3 separate regions of the Homo sapiens genome follow, and regions 2 and 3 are each linked to region 1. Evidence: promoter capture Hi-C in human tissues and cell types (Jung and others, 2019). All regions are on one chromosome and are shown on one strand. Each heading gives the region's core, a stretch centred on a gene start or on the middle of the fragment in contact. The rest is flanking DNA. Distances are from core to core; before and after follow the strand shown. Region 1 holds the start of FAM221B (family with sequence similarity 221 member B). Region 2 has its middle 26 kb from the start of RECK. Region 3 overlaps TLN1 (talin 1).

Region 1 (4,932 bases), core at 907-3,406:
TGGGGTTGGCTCCTGAGAGTGCAGGGGAATGCTGTCACATAAGGCAAGACACTGCACGCAGCCTGGTTTTGTCTAGGCACCACACACATCCTCCTCCCTTAATGATGTCATTCATGTTCAAAGCTTTAACTACTTCCAGTTGTGTACCAATGACTCCTAAATTCACATTTCTAGCTCAGACCTTTTTCAACCTCTGTACTTCACACTCATACCCACCTGCCTGCTGGCCTTCTCTTCTCTTCTCTTTTTGTGATGGAGTCTCGCTCTGTTGCCCAGACTGGAGTGCAGTGGCGCAATCTCGGTTCACTGCAACCTCCGCCTCCCGGGTTCAAGTGATTCTCCTGCCTCAGCCTCCCAAGTAGCTGGAATTACAGGCGTGTGCCACCATGCCCGGCTAAGTTTTATATTTTTAGTAGAGACGGGGTTTCACCATGTTGGTCAGGCTGGTCTTGAACTCCTGACCTCAGGTGATCTGCCCTGCTTGGCCTCCCAAAGTGCTGAGATTACAGGAGTGAGCCACCGTGCTTGGCCCCTGCTGGTCATTTCTAACTGAGTGTTTCCACAGACAGCAAAACTGAACTTTGGGAATTATCCTAGTCTTTTCCTTTTCCCTTAGACTCCATCTTCAAATAGGCACCAATAACTCTATTTCCTATCTTCTAAATATTCCCCAAATGCATTCTCTCCTCTCCCTTCCAATTTTATTCAAGTTCTCATCATCTTCAGCCTTTGTGTAATAACTTTGCCCCTCTACTTCCATCCACAGCATTTTAATCCATTCACCCATTCTTTCATGGATTTATGTAACTTATACTTTTACAATGAGCCTAATCTGATGCTTTTACTGACCCGCTGTGCTAAGCTCTAGATTGAGTTGAGTCTAGGAGAGAGACCGATTAACCAACAATGGCAATACAAATAAATTGATGTTGTTCTGGGGTGAGTCTAGGATACGGTGGGGAGGGGGATATACCTAATTTATCCTGCAAGGATGTAGTCCTCCTTCCTGACCCAATCAGGATCTTTCTAAAGTGCAAGCCCAACAACTGGCACTTTGTGGCTTAAAAACATTCCATGACTCAGTCTAAAGGATTAAGTCCAAATTTCTTGGCCCTGGCATTCAAGGCCTGTCATCATTTTCAACACAGCCTGAGGATTCCTGCCTTAACTTTCCGTGCTCCCTACTTTACCCCCATGTTCCAGAGACGCTAGATATATCACTCCTTAAATGCATCAGAGCCTTTTTGAAGGGGATGTTTGGGAAGGGAATTAGGGGCAGAGGTAGGATTACAGGGAGGAAGATGACCAGAGTCAGCTAGAGAGAAAAGGGGCCTAAGAGTGGAGAACCAGAAGATGGGAGGTGAGGAAGGGGAAAGAGAAGGGGAGGAGGAAATTGGGTGGAGGAGGAGAGTAAGGATGAAAAGTACAGAATGTGGGCCAGGCATGGTGGCTCATGCCAGTAATCCCAGAATTTGGGAGGCCAAGGCGGGTGGATCACTTGAGGTCAGGAGTTCGAGACCAGCCTGGCCAACATGGTGAAACCCAGTCTCTACTAAAAATACAAAAATTAGCTGGGCATGGTGGCAGGCGCCTGTAGTCCCAGCTACTGGGGAGGCTGAAGCAAGCAAATCACTTGAACCTGGGAGGCGGAGGTTGCAGTGAGCCCAGATCGCACCACTGCACTCCAGCCTGGGGGACAGAGCGAGACTCTGTCTCAAACAACAACAACAACAACAACAACAACAACAACAACAACAACTACTACTACTACTACTACTACTACTACTACTACTACTACTACTACAACAATGTGAAGGGACTGAGGGGTGGGAGAAAGACAGATGTCTTTGAGGGAAGAGGGCAAGGGCCGTTGGAGAAACCACCTACCCTCTGGGCTTTGGCTTGGTTGTTACAAGTCCTTAGGTCAAGACCTTGACTTAGGATGGCAGGGGGAGGTGTTGATCCTCAGGGAGGAAAGGCTCTTGGTTGTGGATGTGCCTCAGCTGCAGGTGCTGAGTGTTGAAATGCCTTGCCTGAAAGTCTGCTATCTGGGAAGGGGACTTGGATATCTGCAGAACTTCGCAAAGGAGCTCTGGCATGACCTGGGGAAGTGGGTAGGGACAAGGGGTCTAGGGCCAATGAGGGAGGGTCTTGACTGAAGCCTCCGGAACCCGGGCCAGGAGAGTAGGCGCCGGTCACCAGGGCAACCGGAACGCCTAGTAGTCTCCGTGGCAACGGCGGTCTGGTCACCTCCCCGGTGGGTAAGGTCTCCTGAGGGGCTTGCATTGGGCCTCGAGGGGGCGAGCCCAGAGGGTTTACTTCTGAAAAGTGGGGTGTGTGTTGCGGGATCTCTGTGAGCGAGTGTTTGGGTAGGATCTGCGGAGATCTGTGCGTACGTCCGGGGGAGTCTGGGATTGTGAGGATAGGGTTCCTTTGAGACATCTGTGGGGCGGTCGTTGGGGGCTGTGAGGATCTGAGGGGACCTCGGGCTCTGTGCTTGGGGTGAGAAAGGCAGGGTCTCGGGTAGCTGAGGCGGGGGCGGAGTCTGTGTGTCCTCGAAGCCCAGCAGGACTAAGTTGGGGACCAATAGAGTAGGGCGGGGGCGGGCTTTACTGACAGGGACCAATCGAGCCGGCCGGGGGGCGGGGCGTCACGCCGACGTCAAGTCGAGGCCGCCGCCGCGGGGCCTGGTTATCGCCGGTTCAGCGCAGCCCGGAGTCGCCCAGGCCTGAACTCCTACCCAGGTCCCCGGCCCCCGCCCCGGGCCCGCGAGGACACCGGAGGCCACCCCCCGGGGGTGGGGAGCGGAGCCGCGGGCCAGCTCTGCGAGCGCCCCGCGCTGGCCTGTCCGGCCCCGCCCCCGCCCCGGGCCATGGCCCAGCCCTTGTCCCGGCCCCTCGTCCTATCCCAATCCCCGCCTTGGCCCCCAGCCCCGCCCTCGCCCCGCTTCCCACATCGGCCCCAGCCCCTGCCTGGGTCCCCATCCAGGACCCCCTTCCAGTCTCTGCCCCTGGCCTGGCCCCCATCCCGGCCTCGGCCCTCGTTCCACCCCCTGTCACAAATCCCAGCCCAGGCCCTGTCCCAGCCCCATTCCCAGTGTTTGCTTAAGGCCCTGGCTCAACCCCGTCCCTTGCTGCAGTCCCCATCACAGCCCTTCCTTCCATCCCACTCCCTGCCCTTGTTCAAGCCCCAGTGTCCAGCCCAGCCCAACCCATTATCTCAGCCTTTGCCCTCATCTCTGTGTTTACCCAAGTCTCTCCCTCTAGTCCCCCCTATCTCTCATACTCTGCCCCTCTCCCAGCCTAGACTCAAGTCTGGGTTTCAGCTGCCGCCAGCCCTATTGCTGCTGTTGCTGTTCTCTGTCCTTGGCCCAGGGGCTGGTGAGTGCAGAAGCAGGGAAGATTGAGGCAGGAATGGGGTTCCGGCAGGGAGGGGTGGGCTGGAGAGATTCAGGAGAGGTGGGACCTGGGGAACTAGATCATTGGGGAGCAAGTGGGAGAAATAGAGAGTAGAGAGGTCTTACACAACAGGGATTGGCAGGGTCAAAAGAGTGGTAATTAATTGGGTTTGAGGCTCAGCAGGTGGCTTACAGTTTCTAGCACAGAGACTCCAAGATTTTTTCTGGTGTCTGTCCTGACCCCACTTTGACTCTTGCTTTTCCAGGGAAATGTTGTGGGCTTTGCTCCTGCTCACAAAGTTTGATGGGGGAGAGACAGTCCCACACCAGAAGCCCCTAGTGTAGTGTGGGAATATATAGCCCAAACCTTTGAGATATTGGGCATGCATTCAAACGGCATGAAGAAGAGTTTTAAAGATAATATGTAGCAAATAGATGAATATGGATTAGTTGCCATTATAATGAGTTTTCTTCTTGTAATGATTCTTGTTCCAAAGAAGATTGATTTGCCTAGGAATAATTCCTGATACTTTTAGAGCAGGGCTGAAACTCGGAGGCTATTTTACAGATGGGGAAACTGAGGCTCAGGGAGGGAGCAATTTGTCCAAAGTCAGAGAGCTTGTGAATGGCAGTGTGCTGGGGCTAGAAAAAAGGTTTCCTAATTCCTATTTCATACTAGTGTGTTTTTTTTTATCCACTGCAATGTATACTTAATAGAAAAATAGACCCAAGTGGGGAAAGGCTCAAAGCATAACCTCCCTTCTCCCCGGTCTGCCCACAAGGGTGCTTTATCCACAAACTGTTCCTTATTTGCCAGGCGTCAGCCAAGGGCCACCCTCCGGTGGGGAAGTGACTTGGACAGAAGAGAGAGAGGTCCAATTTTTTAATGGTTGGAATGTGGGAGGAGGAGGGGGTGTCCTGGTCTAGGGGATGTGCCATGAAGATGGCTCCATCATGGAGTGACTGTAGTCTTCATGGCCCAAGTCTGTAGCCACCTCTGGTGGGTGTCACTCTAGATAGGATGGAGATGTGCCTGATGGAGTCTTTGGAAATAACAGCCAACAGAACAGCTGGGGGGTGGAGAATGGGTATCAGTGAGCTCTGGGGGCCTGGTTCAGTGTACAAACTTAAGGAGACGAATGCACGTGAAAGGTCACAACCCCTGCAGAGATGTCTGGTCACTTATGTGTATGTGTGTAACTGAGGGATTGTGGGGAGGCTGGCAGCATGTGTACATGCTTGTGTGTTGTTAAGTGTAGACACGTGCATGTGTGTGGGGTGCATGTGAGCCAGTGTATCTTCTGAGCGCCTGTGTTATGGTATGAAGGGGAGGGGACATGTTGTGGCCCATGTACATTCCTCTTCAGCTCTGCCTCCTCCTCATATGGACAGATCACTGAAGCTGTGAATGGGGCTGGAGACCCTTTCTCAGCAGTTCCAAGGGTGAGGGCAGTGTTGCATGCCTCCCATAACGAATATAAGTTATCCATCCATCCCCAGCCAGTGCCTTTGAAGGAAGGAGCTGTGGAGGCACT
Region 2 (4,932 bases), core at 1,002-3,501, 180 kb after region 1:
GTTTTGGGGATTTTCAACTGCAATGGGGATCGGCGCCCTAATCCCCGCGCTGTTCGAGGGTCAACTGTATTTTTTTCATGTGCCTCTTTCTCGCCACTAGAGGGTGCACTCCCAGAAGGCAGGGACCCTGGGTTACTCTGCACATTTCTGCCTTTTGCCGCTAGAGGATGCACTCCCAGAGGGCATGGACCCTGGGTTACTCTACACATTTCTGCCTTTTATGGAGCATACGCTCAATAATTGTTTGCTGAATAAAGGAATGTCCCCATTCTCTAGACTCATCCCTGTCCTGGGTCACATTCTGTCCATGACTCGTAAGAGGTCTGGGAGCACGTGCACAGATGACAGGAAGCTGAAAGGACAGTGACTTGGGTGCCCAGTGAGGATTGAGGCAGAACACAGCAGGTTGCTTCAAGGTGTTTAATCCAATGAGATGAACATTTAGAGGGAGAGTAAAGGTCTTTCAGTCAGATGCCCCAAGCCACTGCGTAAGCACAGACTGGGGGTGACGGGGCTCGGCTGCAGCACAGGAGAAAGCACCTGGGCTTTGAATGAATCCTGGAATCACTAACCCACAGATTGTTGGACCCTGTTAATGAGATTATGATGTTCAGAAAGAAAGAAAGGGGACAAGGAAAGAAGGAAGGGAAAGAGGAAGGGAGAGAAGAAGGGGGAGAAGAAGCAGACAGCTGACTTCCTCCAGTGCTGCCAACATAATTTGTTCTTGGGGATGTTATCCCAGAAGGATAGAAAGTTTCTAAACTGAGTACAACTCACTTTCCAAACCTTAAATGACTTCAGGGTCTACAATGGTCCCAAAGAATAAACTGCAATTTAAATTATCTTCTAAGGGTGATGGCCAGTCCTTTGGAGATTGTGCCCCAAGCACATGAGGCAGGAGAAGCAGAAAGGACCCTTCACCTGTCACATGTCCTGAGCCCTCACCCTGGCGTTCAGACCCAGTGTCACTGTTTCTGACATGTAGCCTCTTTCCAAACCTTGGAAAATCGATCATTCTTGCTCATGATGTTTTTTTATAAAAGTAAGGGCAAGTTTTGGTGAAAGGAATTCCACAATTTTCATTAGCATTGGCTATATTTATTTTTTAAATAAATTGATACATAATAGATATACATAATAGATACATAATATCTATTATTGATACATAATAGATATACATGGTTTTAAGGTACATGTGATAATTTAATACATTCATATAATCTGCAAGGATCAAGTCAGTGTAGTTGGGATATCCATGACTTTAAACATTTGTCTTTATGCTAGAAATATTTGAATTATTCTCTTCTAGCCATCTTGAAAGGTATAGTAGCTTATTGTAAACTATAGTCACCCTCCTGACCTATTGAACACTAGGTCTTATTCCTTCGATCAAACCATATATTTTCACCCATTAATCAACAGCATGGTTACATTTCTATCATCAGACTTGATTGTAATGGAATGGGGGCTTGAGGAGGGCAGATGTGAAGCTGTTTCATTGGTATGATATTATTCTCACAAAATCAAATAGACCTCCTCAACCTGCAAGAATGTCTGAGATCATCTGGCCTCACCCTGCCATCATGCTGAGGAAATGGGGGCTTGCCAGGGACCATACAGCTGGTAGTCCTTCTCACGATTGGTTGTCCTTTCTTGATAAAAACTGTTGGGCTCTTTCTCACTTCATAGTTAGATACAAAGTCTGGCAATAATAATAAGCATGTTTCTGAATCTGATAATGATGACATAGAGGGAATATTTTCTTCATATGATCTGCAGGTTCTTGAGAGTTGGCTGGCCAGCCTACAGTGAGAAACCCAGCTGGGGACTGATACACTGCCCAACACACACATCCCAGCAGCAGCGTGTCTCGGGCACCTCAGCCATCCTCAAGCTTGGGGACCATTCTTAGTGTCAGCCTTTGTAGCGAGCTCCTGGTTGATACATTTGCCTCTAAGAGATATATCTACTTTTTTAAGACCTTAAGAGAAAAAGGGAGATTTATTCTTATTTATCTTCGTGCTGAAACCATACTATTTCTAGATATTTAGGCAGTTGTGTGTAAGAGAGATTAACTGCCTTTAGGGGCTCCAGAAGACAAGGCCAGGTAGAAGTTGCAAGGAGACAGATTTCAGCTCAATATCACAGGGTAACTACTTCAAAATGAAGTGAGCCTTACCAGGAGATAAAGAACCTCACATCACTCAGATAGTCAAATCTAGGTTCTAGGACTATCAGGAATGTGGTAAGGGGCTTTCTGCATTAGAAAGGGGGCAATTACTAAATAGACCCTAAGACCTGTTGTCCTTAGCATTCAAGTAATTGTTATGGTTGATGATGATGATGATGATGAAAGCATTTGTTTGCATGACTATTTCCCCACTAGATTTTGAGCTCTTTGTTCCCAGCACCTAGAATTATGCCTGGCCCAGAGTAGACGCTCAACAAATATCTGTTAACCTGACCTGAATTATTATGGCACTGACTTGGTCACAGCTATAATGTGCTAACCACCAACATAGGAGTATCTCGGAGCTCGTGAGGCAGGAAGCATCGCTGCAACAACAGAGGAGGGGGTTGGATTACTGAGAGCTCTTGGAAAGATAGATATCTGGGAAGTTTGTAAGTATTTTAGATACAGTTCTAATAAAACTGTAGTGCTCAGTTGCCTACAAGTTTTTTACTGGTCCAGAACAAATCATAGTTTGAGAAGCACTTCGAAGTCTGAGGAGTGTTGAGGAAACAATGATTCATCAGTACTTGTTAAAGCACGGCAAAGCAGACTTTATTCAGGACTATCTCAACATGTATAGGGACCACTGCCATGGGATTTTGCAGTGAGGGAGAGAAATTGGGCTCAACTCCAAATACAGCAGGCACAAGTGGGAATTTTTAGCCAAGGAGGGGGCTGGAGGTAGGTAGATAGAAAATTACTAAGAAGAAGCATCGGGGGTAACGGGGATTCTGGCTAAATGGACCTAACAGAATTCTTGCTGAAGAGAGGACAGGGTAATCAGACATCACCTGGGGATGGTGGAGGATGAGGAACCTCATCAAACATTGAAGATGACCAGATATTGAGGAGGGGGGTTCTTGCTGAACTGACTTAGCAGGGCTTTTTGCTGAAACTGAATTTTATAAGCAAGGACACAGATGTACCTAGAAGAAGGTTCAGATGCCTGGCCAAAGTTTGGAAAATCTGAGAATCTTTGTCAAGAGAGATTTAACCTTTCCATTAAATAAAAAAGTAACAGAGCAGGACCCAGGGTTCTGTGAACAGTCTCAGGAACAAGTTAATGCCTTTGCCGCAGGCAATGGAGAATGAAGAGAAGACGGGAGGTTCAGTTGGAACTGTCATTCAACTTGGCCATGGGGCACAGGGGCCTACTTGCTGCCACAGATGTACAAAAGGATCAACCAAATGTTGAGACCTTGGCACCGGATGTGTCGGGGTGCCCGGGGCTTGCTGTCTAGGCAGGTGCCACTAGAGCTGTCCTCTTGGCTGCTACATGCCCCAGGAGACGCTTTATTTTCTGTTGTTGCTTTTTTTCTGTTAGTTTTGATTTGTTTTCTTGTCTCCTTGTGTGCCTTATTCTTTTTTAGTGTGTGCCAGATGTTGTGTTTGCAAAATTATTTGTGGAAATGATTTAGAGACTAGGGTGATGTTATCTTCCTCCAAAGTGGATCTATGTTGGCTTCTGTGAGGCATTTGGGAGCATCAAAACTTGGTATCACCTCAATTCGATTTCAGGGCTTGGGAAGATTTGAAGCTGAACTACAGCATCTGTAAATGTCTGTTTCCTTCTGATTTGCCCTTATTCCTATGGTGCTGCCCTTTGAGAGTCCATCCCAAAAGGAGAACATTTAGTGAGGGGCCTTTCAAGGTGAGTCTTTCACAACAAAACTTACTCCCCATCTCCATGAGGCTGTCAGTAATGCTTCCCAGCCTCTCCCTGGCTCCCTCCAGAAGCTGCAAATGCTCGAGTTGAATCACAGCCACAAGTGCTAGACTTACATCTCTAGGTCCTTGTTTTTCCCCAGAGTCATAACCCTATGTTCCTCATTGTCTTATTACTTCTCCAATGTTTTATGTATTTTTTCCAGTTTGTCTAATGGTCATCTGCAAGACAGTTAGTCCAAATTAGCCTGTTTGTTCTTACCAGAAGCAGAAGTTAAATATTGACCTGTACTACATTGTTCCTAGAACCCCATAGAGATGAACAAATCATCAGCGCTATTCTCCAGTTGCTCAGCAGGGCAAGGATTTGTGCCTGGCCTTCCAGGTACTTTTGGAGTAAGAGGATGCTGAGGTTGACCTCTGAGTTCCTCCAGGTGACAGAGCAGATGCACCATGAACAGGTCCAATGAGGCCTCCCCTGTGTTGGGGTTCGTTCTCCTGGGCCTCTCTGCCCACCCATAGCTGGAGAAGACATTCTTTGTGTTCATCCTGCTGGTGTACCTGGTGATCCTGCTGGGCAACGGGGTCCTCATCCTGGTGACCATCCTTGACTCCCGCCTGCACACACCCATGTACTTCTTCCTGGGGAACCTCTCCTTCCTGGACATCTGCTATACAACCTCCTCATCCTTGACAGCTTCCTGACCCCCAGGAAAACCATCTCCTTCTCAGCCTGTGCAGTACAGATGTTCCTCTCCTTTGCCATGGGAGCCACAGAGTGTGTTCTCCTGAGCATGATGGCTTTTGATCACTACCTGGACATGTGCAACCCCCTTAGGTACCCTGTGGTCATGAGCAAGGCTGCCTACATGCCCATGGCTGTTGGCTCCTGGGCAGCTGGTATCACCAACTCTGTAGTACAGATATCCCTAGCAATGTGACTGCCCTTCTGTGGGGACAATGTCATCAATCACTTCACCTGTGAGATCCTGGCAGTTCTAAAGTTGGCCTGTGCTGACATCTGCATCAACGTG
Region 3 (4,932 bases), core at 1,202-3,701, 130 kb before region 1:
GAAATTATTTTACATTTTTACGAATCTCTTTACTCTCTGGCTTCCAAGGGGACAGCTGTATTATCAATATCTCCTTCCATATTTGATCTGTTGCTATATGTTGGTTACTGAGACATATGAAGAAAATCCTGTCTCACAACAGATATGCAGTTGGAAAGATTTATTTATTATTTTATTTATTTATTTTGAAACAGTCTTGCTCTGTTGCCCAGGCTGGAGTGCGGTGGTGCGATCTTGGCTCACTGCAACCTCCGCTTCCCAGGTTCAAGCAATTCTCCTGTCTCAGCCTCCTGAGTAGCTGGGACTACAGGCATGCACCACCATGCCTGACTAATTTTTGTATTTTCAGTAGAGACAGGGTTTCACCATGTTGGCCAGGCTGGTCTCGAACTCCTGACCTCAAGTGATCCGCCTGCCTTGGCCTCCCAAAGTGCTGGGCTTACAGGCGTGAACCACCACGCCTGGCCTATTTATTATTATTATTATTTGTTTATTTTTTTGAGACAGAGTCTCGCGCTGTCACCCAGGCTGGAGTGCAGTGGGGCGATCTCAGCTAACTGCAACCTCCGCCTCCCAGGTTCAAGTGATTCTCCCGCCTCAGCCTCCCGAGTAGCTGGGACTACAGGCATAAGCCATCACACCCAGCTAACTGTTGTATTTTTTGTTTGTTTGTTTTGTTTTTTTGAGACGGAGTCTCGCTCTGTTGCCCAGGCTGGAGTGCAGTGGCACAATCTCGGCTCACTGCAACCTCCGCCTCCCAGGTTCACGCCATTCTCCTGCCTCAGCCTCCCAAGTAGCTGGAACTATAGGCGCCCGCCACCATGCCCAGATAACTTTTTATATTTTTAGTAGAGACGGGGTTTCACTGTGTTAGCTAGGCTGGTCTTGAACTCCTGAACTCAGATAATCTGCCTGCCTTGGCCTCCCAAAGTGCTGGGATTACAGGCGTGAGCCACCATGCCGGGCCTGGCATATTTATGTTTTTTTGAGACAAGGTCTGGCTCTGTCACCCAGGCTGTAGTGCAGAGACACAATCACGGCTTGGCTCACTGCAGCCTTGACCTTCTGGGCTCAAGTGCTCTCTCCGCCTCAGTCTCCTCCAGTAGCTGGGACTACACATGTGCACCATCATACCCGGCCCTTTTTTTTTTTTTTTTAAATAGAGATGGTGTGCCACTATGTTGCCTAGGTTGGTCTCAAACTCCTAGGCTCAAGCTACCCTCCTGCCTCAGCCTCCCAAAGTGCTGGAATTACAGGCCTGAGCCACTGTGCCTGGCCGATAATTGGCAGTTTCTTAAGGGGCAGTTGCAATGTAGAATGTGAAACCATATCAGTGACCTTTTTGTACTGTTAAACTAAAATCCGTTGTTTTGGCCAAGTGTGGTGGCTCACGCCTGTAATCCCAGCACTTTGTGACGCCAAGGTGGGTGGATCACCTGAGGTCAGGAGTTCGAGACCAGCCTGGCCAACATGGTGAAACCCTCCCGTCTCTACTAAAACTACAAAAATTAGTCAGGTGTGGTGGTGGCACACGCCTGTAATCCCAGCCACTCGGGAGGCTGAGGCAGGGGAATCACTTGAACCTGCGAGGCGAAGGTTGCAGTTAGCCGAGATTGCACCACTGCACTCCAGCTTGGGTGACAGAGCAAGACTCTGTCTCAAAAAAAAAAAAAAAATCCGTTTTTCTGAACTGCACCTGATTGGATCTTTTACCCATGCATAATTTTGTAACACCGTGCATTCGTCATATGGAAAATAATTGATTCACTGAGCTATGCAAATCTTCCAAATATTAATGTTTCATTATACATTATTTTAAAAATCACAATAGGTTTCAGGCCAGGTGCGGTGGCTCATACCTGTAATCCCAGCACTTTGGGAGGCCGAGGTGGGTGGATTGCCTGAGCTCAGGAGTTCGAGACCAGCCTGGGCAACATGGCAAAACCCTGTCTCTACTAAAAATACAAAAAGTTAGCTGGGTGTGGTGGCGGGCGCCTGTAGTCCCAGCTACTCAGGAGGCTGAGGCAGGAGAATTGCTTGAACCTGGGAGGTGGAAGTTGCAGTGAGCTGAGATTGCACCACTGCATTCCAGCCTGGGGAACAGAGCGAGACTCTGTCTCAAAAATAAATAAATAAATAAATAAATAAATTTTAAAAAAATCACAATAGGTTTCAACAGTAAAGTCTTTGTTTTTCTTCATAGTATTATACTGGAGAACAGTAAAGTCTTTAAGTTTTAAATTTTGGGAAGCTGTGAAGCTCATGTAGCAAATACAAGTGTTCCAAAATTCGATTTTTCACTTGAAAGCTTGAATTATATCATTGGCAACAAACACTGTCAGATTTTTCCCTGAAGTGACAGACTCACTTTGTTCCTTTTTAGAAAAGTTCTGCCAGCTACCTAAATCTGATAACCACAGTTTGTCGGCCATTCTTTTGAGTAAACGTGGCATTCCATAAAAGAGCAGCTAGTTCAGCTCACAACTCAAAGAATGGCCTAAGTTATTTCCTCCAGAAAACCATCATACTTTGGTATGCAAAATGTCTTATGCATACTTCCCACTTTATCAGACAGAATGTTGAAAAGCCTTTTCCTTAAGGATTAAGGTTTAATTAAATTAATACATTTAGGCTGGGCGTGGTGGCTCACGCCTGTAATCCCAGCACTTTGGGAGCCTGAGGCAGGCAGATCATGAGGTCAGGAGTTCAAGACCAGTCTGGCCAACATGGTGAAACCCTGTCTCTACTAAAAATACAAAAATTAGCTGGGCATGATGGCATGTGCCTGTAATCCCAGCTTCTCGGGAGGCTGAGGCAGGAGAATTGCTTGAACCGGGACACAGGAGGTGGAGGTTGCAGTGAGCCGAGATCACGCCACTACACTCCAGCCTGGGCTACAGACCGAGACTCCGTCTCAAAAAAAAAAAAAAATTTTTTTTTTTTACTTCATCAAGGACATTTTTTTTGAGTCTTGCTCTGTTGCCCAGGCTGGAGTGCAGTGGCGTGATCTTGGCTCACTGCAACCTCCGCATCACAGGTTCAAGCAATTCTGGTGCCTCAGCCTCCCAAGTAGCTGGGAATTACAGGTGTGCACCACCATCCCCAGCTAAGGAAAATAATGTCTTGGTATTTTTATGAAAATAATTTTGACCTATGGACCCCTGAAAAGGTCTTAGGGAACCCTAGGGGTCTGAGGACCACATTTGAAGAGCTGCTGGTTTAATAGGTTTTAAAGCCTCTCCCCAGATGGCTCCCAAGGTATCACTAGTGAGAAGTATGTGATTGGTCCCAGTTCCTGAGGACATGACAAGGAAATGGTAACAGGAGTAAGCAGCTGTCCTGGGCTCCTAGCTGGAGTTCAAAGTCTAGACTGCCACTTGTCGGGGAGGTTATAGAAGGGATTTGATCTCCAAGGTCCTCAACTGATACTATGACATTGAATCTGGGATTAGGGAGCCCCCACAGTATGTACTGGAGTTGCCAGTCCTCTGCGTCAGAGAAGTGATAATACATCTCAATTTTCCAGTGCTTAGCACAAGCATGGCTTAGTAAATATTGAATGAATGAATCACAGGTGATAGGAGTGATGGTAGGAGGTTGGCACCATCCCTAATGGGCTGTCCTAGAGTTCCATCTACTTTCTTAGAGAAGGGCTCTCACTCCGTCACCCAGGCTGGTGCACAGTGGCACCATCATAGCTCACTGCAGCCTTGAACTCCTGGTCTCAAGCAGTCCTCCTGCCTCAGCCTTTTAAGTAGCTGGGATTAGAGGCTCGAACCACCGTTACCAGCTACATTCCATCTACTTCAAGCTTTCCCTAATGTGGTGGGAGTAGAAGGTGTTAGTAGCAGATGGGTGGCGTTTGTGTTCTACTTGAGGAAATAATGTACTGGGCGGTAGGGCTGACTAAAGAATCACGCATGAAAATAGTTGCCAACCTAAGACGACTGTCAGAGAGTCCATGCATTATGGACAGAGTGGCTGGATGGGGACGTGGAAGCACACAGCATCCACCTCTCTGACTGCCTCTTTCCACTGACCCACCAGATAAGCAGGGTGGCTGGAACAGGGCTGCTAGCACCTTCCTGGCCACTAGGGGAGCTCTGCCCCCTCTAACAATAAATTCTCACACCTGGGTCAAGCTCTTCACTTTTAGCGCTACCCTAGGCAGGAGTGTCCCAACCCAATCAAGAGCGGTGCCTACCCGAGGCAGCCTCAAGTTGGGATTTTTCTGCTTGCTAATGGCTTCAATCAGTTTTGTGGCCATAGTTCTCTTAGGCTCAGACACTTACAGGCATATTATTTTTAGCAAAGCTTCTTTTGAAAATTTGAATTTGGTCAAGGACTGGATTTGTTGACATACCCTGAGTAGCTATGAAGAACAGAATGTCCTGGTAGCCACAAGGAACTGTGGTAGCTGCTGTCCCAGCAGCAGCAGAACGACACTTTGTGAGGCTTAGGTGCTGGCCAGGGAGGTGAGGATAACAGGAGTATGACTTCTCAGGCACAACTTCCCCATTGGATAACTTTAGGGTCCGGGTGCAAGGAGGAAGGGACCTCAGGTGCAGACTGCCAGTCTTCCCCTCTCCCATTTCAAGCTGGATCAAGCTGGGTGACAGAATTCAACCCCACTGTCTCTCCTACTGCCCTGGGAGAAAACTTGTATCTCCCTTGAAGCCAGGCAGAGGTTGTAGGTAGAATCATTTTTATTGGAGCATGACCTGTTTGGGGCTTATAACTCTGCAGCCCCTATGGGTAGCTGGGGGTGGGGGAAGATAGTATCAAAAAACGGTGAAGAGAGCTGATGAGGCTGTGGGGACTGGCCGGAAGCTGCTGGCAGGGTGGAGTGGGCTGGGGCCCCGGCAGATTCAGATCGAGGTACAGCAGCGTTAATAATACTCTTGGAGCGTTAATACTCTGGGGAGGGGCAGG

The links. The method cuts DNA at HindIII sites, captures the fragments that hold promoters and counts their contacts. A contact is called where the count stands out against the background at its distance.
Region 2: a fragment that was not itself captured here is called in contact with the fragment with the promoter of FAM221B in region 1 in 2 of the 25 tissues and cell types used here (adrenal gland and mesenchymal stem cells).
Region 3: a contact is called between a fragment that was not itself captured here and the fragment with the promoter of FAM221B in region 1, in 1 of the 25 tissues and cell types used here (liver).

Annotation. Positions count from the first base shown.
Region 1 is chr9:35,826,576-35,831,507 of GRCh38, forward strand. It overlaps FAM221B (family with sequence similarity 221 member B), which reads right to left and starts at 2,157. Exons shown (of 7, transcript NM_001012446.4): 1 at 1,888-2,157. It overlaps TMEM8B (transmembrane protein 8B), which reads left to right and starts at 2,653. Exons shown (of 13, transcript NM_001042590.4): 1 at 2,653-3,380. The coding sequence starts at 2,873. RefSeq lists a silencer at 2,510-2,959 and an enhancer at 3,245-3,745. The HindIII fragment of the contact is 23,285 bases long and covers 1-4,932 here.
Region 2 is chr9:36,008,833-36,013,764 of GRCh38, forward strand. It overlaps the pseudogene OR2S1P. Among named protein-coding and RNA genes, the nearest start is that of RECK, 26 kb to the right of the region's middle. The HindIII fragment of the contact is 7,446 bases long and covers 1-4,932 here.
Region 3 is chr9:35,692,649-35,697,580 of GRCh38, forward strand. TLN1 (talin 1) reads right to left here. Exons shown (of 57, transcript NM_006289.4): 57 at 4,300-4,932. Among named protein-coding and RNA genes, the nearest start is that of TPM2, 5.2 kb to the left of the region's middle. The HindIII fragment of the contact is 3,222 bases long and covers 841-4,062 here.